Linked DNA regions of Homo sapiens: region 1 is linked to region 2. Evidence: promoter capture Hi-C in human tissues and cell types (Jung and others, 2019). All regions are on one chromosome and are shown on one strand. Each heading gives the region's core, a stretch centred on a gene start or on the middle of the fragment in contact. The rest is flanking DNA. Distances are from core to core; before and after follow the strand shown.

Evidence for each region. Contacts are between HindIII fragments. The study calls those that stand out against the background at their distance.
Region 1: a contact is called between a fragment that was not itself captured here and the fragment with the promoter of PROKR2 in region 2, in 4 of the 25 tissues and cell types used here (H1 embryonic stem cells, IMR-90 fibroblasts, aorta and 1 more).

The regions. Positions count from the first base shown.
Region 1 is chr20:5,409,641-5,413,878 of GRCh38, reverse strand. No RefSeq gene overlaps it. Among named protein-coding and RNA genes, the nearest start is that of LINC00658, 34 kb to the left of the region's middle. The HindIII fragment of the contact is 4,719 bases long and covers 523-4,238 here.
Region 2 is chr20:5,314,226-5,318,261 of GRCh38, reverse strand. PROKR2 (prokineticin receptor 2) reads left to right here and starts at 1,308. Exons shown (of 3, transcript NM_144773.4): 1 at 1,308-1,768; 2 at 3,885-4,036. The coding sequence starts at 3,893. The HindIII fragment of the contact is 13,355 bases long and covers 1-4,036 here.

The DNA.
Region 1 (4,238 bases), core at 1,633-4,132, 94 kb before region 2:
TAGAAAAAGATTTAGTATAAGGAACTGGCTTATGCAATTATTGATCCTAATAAATTCCAAGATCTGCAGTCAGCAAGCTGGAGACCCAGGAGAGCTGATGGTGTCATTCCAGTCCGAGACTAAAGGCCAGCAGGCTTGAGACCCAGGAAAAGTTGATACTTTTGTTCAAGTTTGAAGGCAGGGAAAAAACCAATGTCCCAACTCAAAGGCAGTCAGGCAGGAGGAGTTCCCTTTTACCCAAGAGAGGGTCAGGATTTTGAGCCTACTCAGGCCGTCAACTGATTGAATGAGGCCCACCCATATTAGGGAGTGTGTATTAGTCCATGTTCACACTGCTATGAAGAACTGCCCAAGACTGTGTAATTTATAGAGGAAAGAGGCTTAATTGATGCACAGCTCAGCATGGCTGAGGAGGCCTCAGGAAATTTATAATCATGGTGGAAGGTGAAGGGGAAGCAAGGCACCTTCTTCACAAGGCGGCAGGAAGGAGAATGAATGCAGGAGGAACTACCAAACACTTATAAAACCATCAGATCTCGTGAGAACTCACTATCATGAGAACAGCATGGGGGAAACCGCCCCCATTATTCCATTATCTCCACCTAGTCTGTCCCTTGACATATGGGGATTATGGGGATTACAATTCAAGATGAGATTTTGGGTGGGGACACAGCCAAACCATATCAGAGGGCAATCTGCTTTACTCAGTCTATCAATTTAGTGAAGTTCATCCTAAAATACCCTCAGAGAAACACCAAGAATAATGTTTGGCTAAATATCTGGGCATCCCATGACCCAGTCGAGTTGACACGTAAAATTAACCATCACAGGTAATCCATAAAAAATGAGATAGCCATTGGTTGGGAATTACTCCTTCAATTTCCTTTCATTATTCTGCCGTCAACCCTGTGTATATTCCTATCTCACCTCTAGCCCTATTGCCTGAGAGCCTTCCCCGTGCCATGCCCACCCCCCCAACGAGGTGGCCAGGTGGAGGCCCTGTAGGGCATGGAGACAGAGGGGCTGCCCATAGAGGCTTTGTGAGTGTGTCCATGGAGCTAAGAGTCAGGCAAATCCCTGACTTTCCACCACAGGAACTATCCCCTCCATCATGACAGTCTTTCTCATCATAAGACCCCCACTGTAATGACCAAACTCATACTTACAGTCATTTGGCAACTTTTAACAGAGCAGAAGAAATGATCAAAGCAGTAGTACACTACCCAGAGATTCAGGTGCCTTCATGCCATGAACATTTTTTAGAACAGTACCCCCGATTTTCACCTTACTTCAAAAGTCCTTGGTACAATGAAAATTGCCTATTTTTGTTCCTTAGAAATTTTACTCAAAAATGTGGAAGGCATTTTCAATCTAAATCTCATTTAACTCATGTTTTAAGACACTCTAGTCATCCAGCCCTTGCAGAAAAGTCCACCCAATTTAACATTTATAACATTTGGTTTTCATATTACTTGTTTTTTTCTACTTAATAAATCTCTGTGTGTATATGTGTGCGTGTTGTATATCTTGTTTTATTTTCATGATCAACTTTTAGGTTTTTACGAAATAAAATGAATTTCCAGGAACAGAACACCAATTCATAACTTTTTGCCTCTAGGAAATGAGGGTTTAATTTATGAAGTATAGATCTGCTGCCATGGTTCAGAAATTTAATTAAATCATAAGTCGAGTGAATTGTGTTTCTTTTCCCAGCCCAGAGGCCAGTGCCACTGCGAGTGTCGGGTGCTGAGTGTACATGGGATCCCCAGAAGCTCTGTCTGGGAAGTGGGAGTGGGGGGCAGTGTGGGGAAGCTCAGAGGCCCTGGAACAGGATTGCCAGGGTCTGGAGTCTGAGGCCGTCTTTTACTAACTGTGTCTTTCCCTCTGTTTCATTATTTCTAAAATGGAGAAATTGGTCAATGCAAGTTACAGATTAATGAGACTATTGATGTGAAGTGTTCATCGTAGTACCCAGCACTTAATAAATGTACAGCAAGTATGAGCTACCAGCTATCCCTCCCCTGGGGGTTAAAAGCTATGTGTAAAAGGAAAACTGGGGCTTCCACCCCGGCCAGGCATGTTCATTGCTGGTACCGGCCTTGACAAATTAGGCCCTCTGAGGGAGCCTCAGCCTCATTCTTCTTCAGAAGTGACCAATAGCAGATGACCTCCAGGTGTCCCTTGGCCAAACCAAACTTTCAGTCTGTTGCTTGTCCTGTGTCATGCAAGTACCTTCCAGGGATTGTAGAACCTTTGAAGGAGCTCACGGATAGAGCTGCTGTGGCTTCCCTGGATGGGGACACAGAAGAAGGGGCCCTGTAAACCTTCACTGCTTTTGGCAGGAAGTGAACAAGACCTTCTCCTATTGCAGGCCCACACAGATCTCACTCGCAAGCACCCTCTGCTGCATTTGAGTTTTTAAATGGTCTGCTCAGAAATGCTGAGATGTTGCTCTCACTTGTTCAATGTCTTCTTGCAGCAGACAGCACATGAATCCTAAAGTAGCCAAGCCTCAAGGGCTTTGCTTCATCCTCCGGGTTTCTCCTCCAAGAGACACACACCCTGGGAAGGAACAGAAGCACCTTTTGGGGGATATGGAATGTTTTACATCTCAGTCTGGGTGTTAGCTACGTGAAAAAAACCCATCTGCAAAACACTCATTGAGCTCTGTACTTAAGATGTGTGCACTTCATCCACTGTACTGTATATATGTTATTATACTTCAACTAAAACATTAAAAGAAAAACAAGATGTGGAGAAGCTGTGAAAATTAACAGGCAACATACAAATACCTAAAACAATTAGTGCAGACTCTTAGGCAGTAGAAATTACCTCCAGCTTCTCATGAAGAAATGAGAGAAATCCTACTACTAATCATAGGGCCTCTGGAAGCTTTGCTCCCCCTTTTATTTCTGATTTTCATGGCTTTGGCTCTTGACCTTAAATGAAAGCCAGTGGCAAGGTTAGCAGCAAAGGGAGGTGAGCTCATTACTTCTCTGACAGTCTGTTTCACCTAGACACTGAAGACAATTTCTCCCCATACTTGAGTAATCCCCACCAAATTACTTCAAGAAGGGCTGTTGGAATCACAGCCTAGAGGAGTTCTGATGAGTTCAGAATTGGAAATCATTAGGTCCCTCTAACCACTACTTAAGCATTTACTGTTAGAAATCCTTTGCCCCAGACACAAATGGTGGGTTATAAATTATTTATGGACCCAATTAGGGACATAATTGGAGTGATCTGGCTGTTTGCCATAGCACTAATGCATCTAAAGTTTTTCATCTTTCAGTTAAACTTTTTTCTGCTTTCTGTTACACTTTGATATCCTAATCTGCTCTCCAGAGGTCTGCAAAAATAAAAATAAAATAAAATAAGGAAAAGTGTTCATGACTCTTTCATAAATGCATATAAACTTGAGCTTCAGTGAAGAGTCATTGAATATCAGCAAGTTAATCATGCTTTTGCTTCATTATGCTCCCACAAGTATTAGCAAAAATCACTGACCTCAAATCACTTATAAAGAAATGGCTTTGATGTGTTTATGCAACCTCCTTCCTCTTTCAGTGTCACTGCAACCTCTGCCTCCCAGGATCAAGAGATTCTCCTGCCTCAGCCTCCTGAGTAGCTGGGATTACAGGTGCACATTACCACGCCCGGCTAATTTTGTACTTTGTAGTAGAGATGGGGTTTCACCATGTTGGCCAGGCTAGTCTCAAACTCCTGACCTTGGGTGATCCACCCACCTCGGCCTCCCAAAGTGCTAGGATTACAGGCATGAGCCCCATGGCGCCCAGCCTGACATTTCTTTATTTAAATGAGCTCAGTTGCGTTTTGGTTTCTTGCATTAGACTGTTTCTAAAACACAGAATAAGATTGGTTAATCCCTTCAAAATAAATGTGCCTACTTTTCCTTATTTGGTCCTGCCCCATTAAAAACTCAAGCTCCTTCATCTTTTAATGCTCAGTTCCACGCTGACACAGCGTGATATTGTAAAACACATATTTGGTCTTCAACCTCCTTTTCTGGCATACAACTCCTAAAATCCTTCGAATCTCCCCAAAGTGATGGTTTTTGTATGCTAATGATTGACTGGTGGCTGGCAGCCCCTAACATAGATTCAGGGTGGGGTTGGTCACTGGTCACTGGGAAACCAAAGCAGGGTTAGAGAGCTTGAATTTTCAGCTGTATGGGAATCCCAAACCTCTGGGGAGGGAAGAGGAACTGAAGGTTAAGT
Region 2 (4,036 bases), core at 59-2,558:
TGTTTTCTAAGCACCCACTGTCTCCCTGGGGACCACATGTCCATCCCCAGAAAAAGCTCCTACTCTGCTGAGGGTGGTCAGGACTTGGAGTTACTACAGCGACATCTGTGGGTCGCCAGATCTGTGTGGAAGCAACCATGCCTTAACTCATCTCAGAGGATTCCATGAAAGCACCAGCGGGCAGATGGTCCCAGGGGTCTGTTTGCCCCCATTGAATAGGGCAGGCATGGTCCATGAGCGAAGAAGCCTCTAGCTGAAGTTGGTAAGTATGCACTATTGCAAAGAATGTGTCCAGGGCGTACAACTGGCCACCCCATCATCTCCCCCACTCAAGCAACAGAGCTTTTTTGCCTCCATATCTGGAAGTTGCCCTGAGCATGTAGAACACCTGCCCAATCGCAGCCCCTCCCCAGGAGGAAAGCAAACAGCTGGCTCTCTTGCCTTTGATCATGCGGGAGAGATGCTAAGAGGTAGGGAGAGTGGGGTCAGGTTCCAGGTAAGGTGGGAAAAGCAGAATCACAGAATGTCACAACCTGAAGGAGTTTGAAGTTCATTTATCCAAAAATTTTTAATTGGCAGCCTTGTGGACTGTGTTCAGTCTGAGACAGGTTCTCTTTGACCAAAACAAGATTTTTGCTTTAACGAACCCAAAGACTATTTTTAAAGTTCTCGAATTCCAGATTCTCTTGAAAACAATGGGAAGCTCTGACAAAGTGGAGTCCATGTTCCCACCTGCCAATAATCCGCTGGCTGGGGTTTAACGATGGGGAACACCTTTTTAGACCTTCAGGGTCCTGCCACAGGTTCAATCCTGTATGCCCAGAGCTTCCTGGGCACCAGTCATTTGAATGGGCAGTTCCTGTGTTTAACCAGGAAGGTCGTGGGAGGATTTCGAACCTGTCAGAAGCAAAGTGAAGGGCTCCAGACTCTCCGGACAGATGGGCTGAGGCACTCCTGGGATTGTCTTTATACGGCCATGGAATCTGATAGTGGTGGTCATCGCAAAGTTTGGGTGAGGACTTCAGGGGCTTTGAGCAGAGCAAACTGTCCCCATCCCCAGCTTCCTCCTGGGGGCCTCCTCCTTCACCGCCATCTCCAAAGGCCCACACCGCACTCGTCGGAGCCGGGCTTTCCTTGAAAGGGTCACCTTCTAGTGGGCGCGGACGCTGGCACTGGGCACCTCCGGAAGACAGGACTCTCCCCTCCTGCGCGCGCGACCCGGGTGCGGTGCCACGACTGGCGGCAGAGGGCGGTGCTCACTGTTCCCAAGCGCACGGTAGAAACCCGGCTACTGTGTGGTCCGATTCAGACGGGATGCGAAGGCGCTGAAATCCGTGCGAGAGGCTGCCCCCGCTGCCGGGGACTCGCGTCAGCGCGGCCGGAGCTACGGTGCCCGCGCCCTGGACGCACCAGCCCGAGAGCACGCGGTGGGGTGGGGGAGCTGGGCATCCACCCTTGGCCTGGACTAGGAGGCAGGCGGGGACCCCGGGGCGGAGTCCAGCGCGGGGCGGGGCGCACAGGTCCGAGACGCTGGAAAGAGCTGTGGGGCCGGAGCGCCAACTCCAGCTGGAACCCAGAGACCCTGACACGCCGGAGGAGCCCGCCGGGGCGAGGAAAAAAGAGGGACATCCCCCACGCAGCGGCTCTGCAAGTGCAAGTCCGGGTCCTCGAGGTGAAAACCGAGCGGCCCGCCTGCGCCCAACCACACTGTGACTCTCGATCCGGCTTCCGGAGCAGCAGAGCGCACAGAAAGGAGGCGCCGAGACAGGTAAGGGCTTAGATCCCTGCAGTCCCGGGACTCAGTCGGTGCGGTGGGGGAGTCGCTAGGACAAGGGCCTCTGACGCCCACTTTTTTCTCGGGCATTCCGGCTGCTTTGCCTCCCGCCACTCTCGAGATATGCGTCGGGGCTGGCTCCAAGCAGGCGAGTTGGTTTCAGGAGATCCCCTCTGGGCCCTCTAGGACCGGGTAGGGTACGGTAAGCGGAGTCTGTGGTGTGCGGGCGCGGGCAGAGGGAGCCAGCGGGTAGCTGAGCTCGCGGACGAGCTCCAAATTGCAGGGGAGGGTGCAGGTAGAGGGGCACCTTCCTGAAAGGTGAGCAGGAAACAGCAAGCGTCCGTGGGGAAATTCCCGCGCACCGCATCCTCCACCCACCCGCCGTTTTCTTCCAGCCAGGAGGCACCGCAGCCTTTGCTTCTAGAGCCTGAATTTCTGACTTGATTCCTGTCTTTGCCAGGATGTCGCCTCTAGACGCCGACAGTGCGGCCGCGTTGATGGGGCGGGAAGGGGGCTGCTGGAACGGGTCGCTCCCGGGCGGGGAGTGCAATCTACGAAAATGCGGCTGGGACCTGTCCCAGCCCGGGCGCGCGCCCTCTTGTCTTGGGTTAGGGGGCTGGAAAGCCGAGGAGGGGTAGGACTCCCCATTCTTGGTCCCACGCTGAGCAGAGGCTGCGGGGATTGGGGTGTCGCATGAGACGGAGGGGCGACCTGGAGAGAAGACACCTCCGGGTGTGGACGCCACTGGGATTTGCATCTCGCCTCTTGGAGGTTTTCACCTTGGGAAAGCAGCTGGCGGGCGCACCCCAGGTTAGGGTGTCTTTTGCTGGCGCGCAGTTCCTGTCCCTCGGCGTTCTCCTCCCCTCGCAGGAGTGGACCAAATGCATTGTTCAGCTGGGTCATCTCCTTGCTACCCAGCATCCCGCGGCGCCCACATGTGGAGTCGTTTCCAGGTGTGCTGAGAGGCGAGGGGAAGGCCACTCACAGCTGGACAGCCAGGGCCCCTTTCTATAGGTGTTGGGATCTGGGCTCTTTTTCCAGCCCCTCGGTGAAGCCTTGTACCCTGGGGTGCCCTATCTCCTGCGGGCTGAGGGCTTCAGAGACTATTTTCCCTATTTTGAGACCTTGGTGACAGGACATGGTGCCTTTCAGGCAGGGTTGACTCTGGGTGGAGAACTAGGGCCAAGTGAAGGAGGTCAGAGAGCAGATCCAAAGTTGGAGTAGGGTGGGAAGGGCGGCAGAGGATTTCTTTCTGGAGCTGGTTCCCACAGAACGGGGAGCAGCAGGGGAATTCCCCTCCCCCACCCCACCACCACCTCCTCCACCTACAGCGCCCTGGTCATGCACTCAACAGATGTCTGTCTAGCCCCCACTATGCACCAGGCACTGGACTGGGCAGCAGGAATTTGGTTTACAGGAAGATTAGGACTCAGAGAGCATAAATCACTGGCCCAGGGTGACTCAGTCTGTCCATGTGAAAGTGAACTTGGTGATTTCCAAGTCTATGGCTTGGTCAGTACAGAAGGAGTGGTGTCCTGCTTTGGAGAGAAGACCCCGCAGCATCCTGGCCCTCCTGCTTCATTGTCCCTGGCCAACAGGTGCCACAACGTTGTGACAGCTGTAGGAGCCTGGCCAGCTCATGGGAGCATCCTTGGAAATGTTCCAGAAGCCCCTGTGGGAGCTGATGTGTTGGGGGCTGGAGGATGTGACTGGGCAGACAAAGAGGCCCTGGCCCCTGGGCAAAGGGCAAAGGTGCACATTCTTCTTGAGAGTTCTGGACAGTCTGATCCATCCTATGCTGTCCTTCCTGACAGCTGGGCAGCCACGGAGGGTTTCCCAACTTACAGATCTCAGGTCTCCTCTCCCCGCATCCCGGGTAGTTCCATCTGGTTAGGCAGTGGGTCTGGTTGGCCTATACTTGGGGAACTCAGGGAATGTGACCAGATGTTCTCCTGCATGTTGCCCACTGGTTGTGCCTCCTTCCAGGATCCAGGACGGTGAGTCAACTCTCCCCAAGGATGTGGGCAGGGTGCTAGGCTCACTGACCCTGAAAGAGCAGAAGGTCTGGACCCTCACCCCTCGCACCTCCCTCACACCACTTTTCTTGCAGACATCACCATGGCAGCCCAGAATGGAAACACCAGTTTCACACCCAACTTTAATCCACCCCAAGACCATGCCTCCTCCCTCTCCTTTAACTTCAGTTATGGTGATTATGACCTCCCTATGGATGAGGATGAGGACATGACCAAGACCCGGACC